Regions from separate parts of the Homo sapiens genome. Here all the other regions are linked to region 3. Evidence: promoter capture Hi-C in 16 types of primary human blood cells and fetal thymus (Javierre and others, 2016). All regions are on one chromosome and are shown on one strand. The core of a region is centred on a gene start or on the middle of the fragment in contact, and the rest is flanking DNA. Distances in the headings are between cores, read along the strand shown.

Region 1 (2,744 bases), core at 240-2,739, 290 kb after region 3:
CTAGAAAGCTGCTCAGCACTGTCTCTGGTCTGGACCAAAGCAGGGCTAGTGGCCCCCACATAATCTAGCTTAACCCTAGCCCAACTCCAGGAAGGAAGAAGAGGCCATATAGTGGTTTGCGTCCAGAGCCCTGCCTCAGACTGAAACGTCCTCTGAGCAGTATGTTCTTTGAGGATTTAGCCTGATGATCTGCAGCTGGTTAAAGAGTCAGAGTTTTGGGGTCCCAGCCAACATCTCTTCCCATCAGAGACAAACTAATGGAGAGAAAGAGAGAACTGTCCCCAGCTCATGCTTTTGCTGGGAACACAAGACTCACAGCGATCTGTGTCAGTGCTGCTGTGTGAGCTGAAGTATGTGTGTGTGTGTGTATTTTAATGAAGGCATAAAAAAATCAAGGAACTATGCCAGGTAGTGAAATTACGGAGAGTTTTTATGTTCTTCTTTGTACTTTCCTGTTTTTTCACAATTAGCCTGTGTTAGTGTAAAAATCTGTAAATAAAGACTATTTCAAAAAATAACACGAAGAAAAATCATGGCAGAATACAAGTAAGTGCTGACTTTTGTGCTGCAGATAGTTTATCCTATGGGGATAGGATTCAGGGGAGATTTCTAAGGTGAAAGACAGAGGAAGCAGATGGAGAAGGGGTGCCTGAGATCACCAGGCCTTTATTCTGCAGATGGGCTGAGTCAAAAGTCAAAACCTGAGTCTCTTGGACTGCCCAGCACTGGTCAGGCTCTGACTAGGGTAACTGGATTCATTTGTTGAATCTGAGAACCTTAGATCTAGAAAAATCTGAGAAATTACAGAGCCAGCCCTATCCTTTCCTTCTCACAGGAGGGACTGAGGCTCAGAGAGGTGAGAACTCTGAGGACTCCTAGCTTTTGCACAGGCTGTTCTCTGCCTGTATCACCCTCCATCTGGCCCTTGTCTGCCTAACTAATCCCAACCCTTCCTTCAAGACTCGGTTCAAACAGCACAGAATCTTGTGAGTTAGGTGGCCTCTGCTGTGCTCACAGAACACTCAGTACATTCCTCTGTCATTCATTCGACAAATTACTGAGCACCCACTGTGTGTCAGGCACTGTTCCATGTACTCGGGAGCATAAGTGACCAAAAATCTCTGCCCTAGTGTGTGGTGACTAAATCATCGCATTTGTTCATTCAGCCAGTGTTTACCTACGTGTCGGGTTTCTGTACCTGGCCTAAGCTATTTTATGGTCAGGGCAATTGTCTCCACAGGCTTGGCCTCCTTCTCTTCCCTTCACCGTGAGTGCCTTGTGACACAGTGAGTGTTTTCTGAATGAATGAATGAATAATGAAATGACCAAGGTCACACAGCAATCTCATGATGGAGCTGGCACTGAAACCCTGGTCACCCGAAAGCTTGTGCACTTTCTCCTGCGCTCCACTGCAGACAGCTCCAATCTTCGTAACCTCCATCACCTCAGGTGAAAGAGGTCACAGAGGAGATCAAGGACTGGGTCCTTAGGCAGATTCATTTTGGAAAGGCGAGACTCATCCTATCACAGATCCTCTCTGGCGAGAGTGGGGACGACACCAGCCTCGGACAGGACATCCCTGCTCAAAAGCTTGGGGCGATCAAGACTGGACACTCTCCAGTAGGGGCCGTGTCGGCCCCATCACTCTGCCCAGTGTCTGAATCTTGAAGTCCATTTCGTTTCTGGATCAAAAACAGAGCCACCTCTGGCACTGCAGAAACATTCATTCCTCACGCACCCCATCCCTGGGCCCCGATCTTTCCCTCTGAGCCAAAGGCAGCGCCGGCCTTTGGCAGCCAGAGCAGCGCGGGCCGGTGGCCCCGCAGCCGCACTGCAGCGCCCTCTGCCGGGCATCGGGCTGGCGCCGCCACTCCGCGGGGCGGGGGAGGAGGGCGGGCGGGGGCCCGGCTGCTTCCAAGCAGCCTCGTGTTCCGGAGGTGCTGAGGGATGGTGACTCATCGCGCCGGCTGCGCCCGCACCGGCCGCCCTCGCAGGCTCGCCGCCTCCGCACGCGCCTGGTGACTGGCCGAGCTGCTCCGCGCACGAAAAGCAGCCCGGGGGCCGGCCCCCGACGGTAGCGGCGCGGCAACGCTTGCTTCCCCGGCCCGTGCCCTCGCCCTGCCCGCGGACCTGGGCATCATGGAAGCTTCTGGCGCTAAAAGCCCGCTCTCCTCCACTTGTCGCGTTGAGTTTTCACCTCTAACCCGGGATAGGGGTCGTTTTTATCACACCACCTTAACAAGAGGGAAACTGGGCGGGGGAACGGTGAGGCGAGGGCCGGGGTCAAGCAGATAAGAAGCAGGGGAGGGCCTAGATTAACCAGTAACCTCTGATTCCAGAGCTCGAGGTGTGCTTTCCATAGCATCAAGCTGCATGGTCCCCCTAACCTCCCAGGTCCTCACCCCCACACAAGCAAAGGAAGGGTAGGTTGGACCACCTCATAGAGGTCCTTGAAAGTCAAGCACCATAATAAACATTTACCATTTTAGAAAGAAAAGAAAAGCTATAAATGGCATTTAAGAAGAAAGTCAGGTAAGCATTGGGCTTGATTCTGTAAATATGTTTTAGATTATATAGGGCAGAGGGCAGTGATCAGAGCTGTGAGTTCGAAAGCTGCACCAAAGGAAAACAGATTGGAGGAGTAGCACCTGAGACCCCAGCAGGCTCAGCAGGGTCTAAATTAGAGTCAGGAAAATGAGGGGAAAAAAAAAGATTACAGATCTGGGAATGGGAAGGACTTAGTG
Region 2 (2,700 bases), core at 86-2,585, 270 kb before region 3:
TTCCCTGAAGACAGCCTTATGCGCTTAATCCCTGCCTTTGAAAAATGGGCCAATACACAACACAGACAATAATTTGAAGCGTCTGTATTCAGCAAAGATAAATACAGCAGTCCAGTCTATAGGTGCTCTACTTAGCATTCTTTTCATGTGCTCCTGGTCTCTGTCTCACTCACCTACTTTCTACTACATCCAACTCAACTCCCTGACACCCTATCCCCCCATCTATTCTTAAACTCTTTCATATATATTTTCACTTCCTAATTCTAGTGTACATATCCCTGTATATCATGGTATCTGTGGGCATATGTCTGTTTCTTATAAAGACACATATTTGTGTGTGTATGTGTGTGTGTGTGTGTGTGTGTGTATAAGCATACATGGGAATTTTTCTGAATGTAAGCAGTTTTGATGTGTCTGTATATCAATCTGTATCTACATTTGATGGACTGAGTAAGAATGTTGCATGTGAGAGAAGGGATGTGACTGTGGACTCAGATTGACACACACAGATTGGTGGAAGAATAGCTTCAGTCCTCTTCCTTCATCCCATATGTAGGTAGCCTTGCTTGACAAATGTTTCTTCTAACTCTCCTTCTTCTGAATTGTGCAGAGACTCTGTTAACTTCCCTTTTTGCACTTAGATAACTTCCTACTTCAACCCCCTCCTTTATCTTGGATTTCTAAAGTTTTTCCCCAATATTGGGAATGGTGAGGGTGGGGATGAGAGACTCTCTGAACAATTCTTGCAGAACCAGTGACAATCTTATGAATATAATGAATAAGTAAGCATATAGTAGGGTGATAGAATACAGATAGTAGAAACAAAGAGAGGACAGCAAACCTTTTCAGCACTTCTCTCAGAGCAAATGGAAACACACAGTAAGTAGCTTTCTGACTACATTATTTTCTGGTCACTTTTAAAGAAAGTTTACAACCTGTTCTGAAACTATTTGTCTTTTCACTGGTTGTAAGTGTACCCCAATCTCAGGGAGTATATCTGTAGTGCCACAGGCAAAAGATCCACTCCTTCCCACACTCATTTGCCTGAACTTACTCGAAGGGCTGCATTTCTCTGAGTTTACGAAATTGTGTCATTATGGTCCCCATACAGTGGTATTTAACTTTTAAAGCAACTTTTAAGAAAACTCGACTTGTTTTTTGTTCATTTTAAGTGTGTGGTACTAAAAAGACATGTTAGACTTTTTTTAAAAAAGCACTTATGTTTTGAAAATAGAATAAATAATAAGAATTTCCAATTAAATCATGTCTGGTGCCAATGTGCAAAACTTCACATGTGTTTTTGTGATTGGAGTTTATTTCATGGCTTTATTCTACATACTCTGCTTAATTATACAGTACAGTCAAAGCTCATTCATTGGGTTGAAGTAGAATAATATTAATATATTAATACATATATAATATATTATACATTTCATAATATGTTAGATAATATATGTAAAGAAATGCAGTTTAATCATTCAAATACATACCCACTCAAACAAGGCTTACTAAATTCAAGCGGGCTTATTGACATCTGTAGGGAACATTTTCTTTTCTTTTCTTTTCTTTTCTTTTCTTTTCTTTTCTTTTCTTTTCTTTTCTTTTCTTTTCTTTTTTTTTTTTTTTAAGACGGAGTCTTGCTCTATCGCCCAGGCTGGAGTGCAGTGGGGTGATCTCGGCTCACTGCAACCGCTGCCTCCCGGATTCAAGCGATTCTCCTGTCTCAGCCTCCCGAGTAGCTGGGATTACAGGCATGCGCCACCACACCCAGCTAATTTTTTTTGTATTTCTAGTAGAGACGGGGTTTCACCATGTTGGCCAGTCTGGTCTCAAACTCCTGATCTCAGGTGATCCGCCTGCCTCAGCCTCCCAAAGTGCTGGGATTACACTCGTGAGCCACCGCGCCTGGCCTGTAGGGAACATTTTCTGATGAATGAGTAAAACATTTTTACTCAGCCTTTCAATTGTGTACAAATGGTGCTTCTTCCCTAATGAAGGGTATTTTAAAACAACTTGTTTTTCTAAATATTAAAAATATTTGGCAGAATCTTGTTTGTTTATACTATTCATTAGCCTTTTCTATAACAGGATTTATCCAGCAAGGATGAACATTGTCTCTACAGTTCCATCCTGGTTAATGAAATTTTACTACATTCTGGGAATCTTACACAACTGGTGGGGCAAAAGTTGTTCTTCACCACAGCTGGCAAAACCTCTGCCATTCCTTTTTCTACTTACCAAGTACCTAGTGTCTGCACTAATGCAGTGGAGATTATTTTCCACATGTAGTCTTCATTTCCTTTTTATTTATTTAATTTTAAAAAAATACAGCCATCAATTTTTATTCTTATATTTGGTAGACATTCATTTCCTTTTTAACTTGAGTAACCTCAGGTGTTGGTTTGTCCAGGGCAGCCCCCATTTATGCCTGTTTTACTGGCATAATTATCAATAGCACTGTGTCACTCTCAAAAAATGTCTCAGTTTGAAAGATATGGTCACCCTATATTTAGCAGATGTGTGATTTCTTTTAAGGCTAAGCCAAAAAACCAAGAACTTATTCTCAAACCACTAGTAGTACTTGTGCAGTAGTGGTATGGGGGTAAGGATGACAGTAGGGGGAAACTCCCTTCCCCACCAAATATAGAAATATTTGGCATAATGGCTCTTAAATAACCAATATTTGAGCACATACCAAAT
Region 3 (2,700 bases), core at 35-2,534:
CCAGCCGCTGCTATAAAAATGTGCCCGGCGGCAAAGCTGCAGAAGGGGCACCGCTGAGCTGCCGAGAGGAAGCTCGCTCTGCCCGGCTGCCCTCTTGTAGTCCGCCGGCGAGGGGCAGTTCTCGGTGAGGAGGAAGAGAGCAGCGGACGGCACAGCACCCGCGCGGGCCCTCCGTGAGTATCCAGTTCAGATTTTGCCACCAACTCGCCCACGAGCCAGGACATGTGCTAATAATGCCCTAAGCCGGTTATAAAGACGTGGAAATTGAGGGGAGAAAAAAAAAGGGAAAAAAAGGGTCTGTCCTTCCTGGGATTCCTAGCCGAGGCCAGTCTGCTGCCGTGTGCGTGTGCGTCAGGGCTCTCCGGGCGGCAATGGGGGCTTGAGAGCCGGGTCCCCAGCGCCGGGAAGGGAGCGCGGTGGCCGCCACCGCCACCGCCCCGGAGTCCGGCGCCGAAGCTGCGGGCGGGCGGGCGGGCACCAGCTCGGTCAGGGGCTGCTTGGCGCGGCACTGTGCGGTGCAGCGGCGGCGCGGCGCGGTGCGGGCTTTTCCCAGGCGCCCCGGGGTCGGGTGGCCAACGGCGCGGCCGCGGGCGCTGAGCGCGACCGGTTCGCGGTAGCGGTGGCGGCGGCGTGCGTGCCAGGGGCTGGGGGCTCCGCCGCCTCTCTTGCGGCTCACCGAGCTCCGCGCTTCCCTCTCTCCAGGGCAGGCGGCTTCTCAGAGGTAAGCCGGGCCGCCGGGCTGGGCGCCGGGCTGGGCGGCGGGGCCGAGGACTCCCGTGGAGCGGGTATGGGGAGTGGGCGGCCGCCAGGCGGGCCGGAGGGTTCTGGGGAGACTTGCTTTCTGTTGGAAAGCTGCTCTGCTGGGGGCGAGGGGCCGCCCGCCCGCCCGCCCGCCAGCGCTCGGGTTCGCTTGCCAGCGCGCCCCCCTGCCGGCCAGCGGGGCCGGGTGCCCGCTTCTCCCGGGGAGACGGCAGCACCTTTTCTCCCTGCGCCCGCGCTTTCTCCAGCTTGGCTTCCACCGACTTTGCTAATCTCCCGGACCGCATCTGGACGCTCTGGCTCCGGAGCTGCACAAAGCTCAGATTTACTTCGGGGAATTGAGGCAAGAGGGGGCTTTTCGGGCCGAGTTCAGCGGAATTGCGGGATGGAAGTTAGCGAATTTGGGCAACTTGCCTCTACTGCCCAGTCGACCTCAGCCCTCCCCTCCCCCGACACACGCCCACACACACACACCCACGCGCACACCCCTCTCCCTATAAACGCGGGCTGGCGAGCCGCGCGCCGAGTCCCTGCTTCGCAGAGCACCGGACTTGGAGTCAGAGAGACCTGGCTGCGAATCCCGGCTCCGCCACTTTCTAGCGCTGTGACCTTGGGCAAGTTACCGCACCTCTCCGAGCCTCTCTCACTCTTCTCCTAGCGGGGTTTTAGCACTGACCGCAGGCGGCTTGGCTAGGGGGTAGGCTCAGCCTGCTGCCGCGTCGGATGCTCAGCGGGCGCTCAGTAAGTGTTGATCAGGCGCGAGAGTGGCAGCAGCCGGCGCCGGAGTGCGGACTCGCCGCGGAGGCCGACACCCCGTGCCCCTTCCTGCCTGTCCATCCTGTCTCTAAGATCAGTTCCTGATACAGCACTTGCGGGAACGGACGCTCAGGGCCCCGGTGGCCTGGGTGCACGCGCCCGCCGTGCAAGGGATGCTCCCGGCCGCCCCCGGTTCCGCGGCTCCATCTGGGATGCGGCGAGGAGGGCAGCCGAGCTGTCCGCAAACAACGGGCCTTTAGTTTTCAGGTGGCGAAACTGACTGGTCTGGTTAGAGCGCGTCCAAGCCAAGCCGCAGTGCTGTTTGGATTTTTAAATTTCTCCTTCTGAGTGAGAAAATAGCAATCGAGATGGAACCATCCGGTTGGTGCCATTTTAACTTTTGGTCCCCCAACAGGTTAAAGATGAGGCCCCCACCTGCCTCTCCCTTCTCTTTTCCCTCTCCCCTTCCCACCCCTGTCTAGGCGGGAGGGGGCTGCTCGCCCAAGGGAAGGCCTGAAGCGAAGAGCGGGCAGCGGGACTGGGAACTGGTGGCCGGGGGGCCGCCAGGCATCAGCCGGCGAGAAGGCACTTGTTGCTCTAGGTTTCCCAGCCGCCTGTCGCAGCCGTTTCGCAGTGGTCAGCTCGCGGCTTGGAGAGCGGGCTGGGACGTTTCCGCGTTGCCAAGTTTTGCCCACGAACGGGCTAGAGGGTGGTGGAGGAGGGCAGAAAGCCGGGGAAGCAGAGCCAGGGATGCCGATGGAAATGCGATTGCTTCTTCAGACGCATTCAACAACACTTACTGAGCGCCTATTGAGCGCAGACCCAGGCTGGGGTCAGGGTGGGTGGTGGGTCAGTAATGGAAGGCAGAAGATCTGAATGGACACAGGGCCTCTTCTGGGGGAGCTCCCAGATTGAAGAGGGAGGCGCGGTAAAATGGTCTTCCCCCACGAACTGATATCAGAATAGAGAGAGTTTTTTTGCTCGTTCTCTCTTTTGATTTTTCTAATGTTTCTCTTTTGGTTTTGCTGTTGTTGCTGCTGCTCCTGTTGTTTTTTCTTCGTTTTGTACATTCGGGTACCAAGCGGCAAAAAGGAGAGGGAAGGCTGGATAGGAACAGGAAAAGATGGACAGGGCCCCCAGACATTTTTCTTAGGACAGGAAAATTGTCTGATACTGATTGTGCTA

The links. Contacts are between HindIII fragments. The CHiCAGO score rates a contact against its expected background, and 5 or more counts as called.
Region 1: a fragment that was not itself captured here is called in contact with the fragment with the promoter of CITED1 in region 3 in 1 of 17 cell types (total B cells); the score reaches 5.6 in total B cells.
Region 2: a fragment that was not itself captured here is called in contact with the fragment with the promoter of CITED1 in region 3 in 5 of 17 cell types (monocytes, megakaryocytes, M1 macrophages and 2 more); the score reaches 9.7 in monocytes.

Annotation. Positions count from the first base shown.
Region 1 is chrX:72,017,862-72,020,605 of GRCh38, reverse strand. All of the region lies in intron 1 of NHSL2 (NHS like 2), which reads right to left. Among named protein-coding and RNA genes, the nearest start is that of NHSL2, 110 kb to the right of the region's middle. RefSeq lists an enhancer at 1,717-1,766 and a silencer at 1,747-2,126. The HindIII fragment of the contact is 206 bases long and covers 1,387-1,592 here.
Region 2 is chrX:72,577,405-72,580,104 of GRCh38, reverse strand. It overlaps PHKA1 (phosphorylase kinase regulatory subunit alpha 1), which reads left to right. Exons shown (of 32, transcript NM_002637.4): 32 at 1-1,291. Among named protein-coding and RNA genes, the nearest start is that of HDAC8, 5.9 kb to the right of the region's middle. The HindIII fragment of the contact is 3,710 bases long and covers 1-2,700 here.
Region 3 is chrX:72,304,498-72,307,197 of GRCh38, reverse strand. CITED1 (Cbp/p300 interacting transactivator with Glu/Asp rich carboxy-terminal domain 1) reads left to right here and starts at 1,284. Exons shown (of 3, transcript NM_001144887.2): 1 at 1,284-1,373. LOC105373250 (a long non-coding RNA gene) reads right to left here and starts at 1,096. Exons shown (of 3, transcript XR_938441.2): 1 at 978-1,096. RefSeq lists an enhancer at 229-278 and a silencer at 5-299. The HindIII fragment of the contact is 8,247 bases long and covers 1-2,700 here.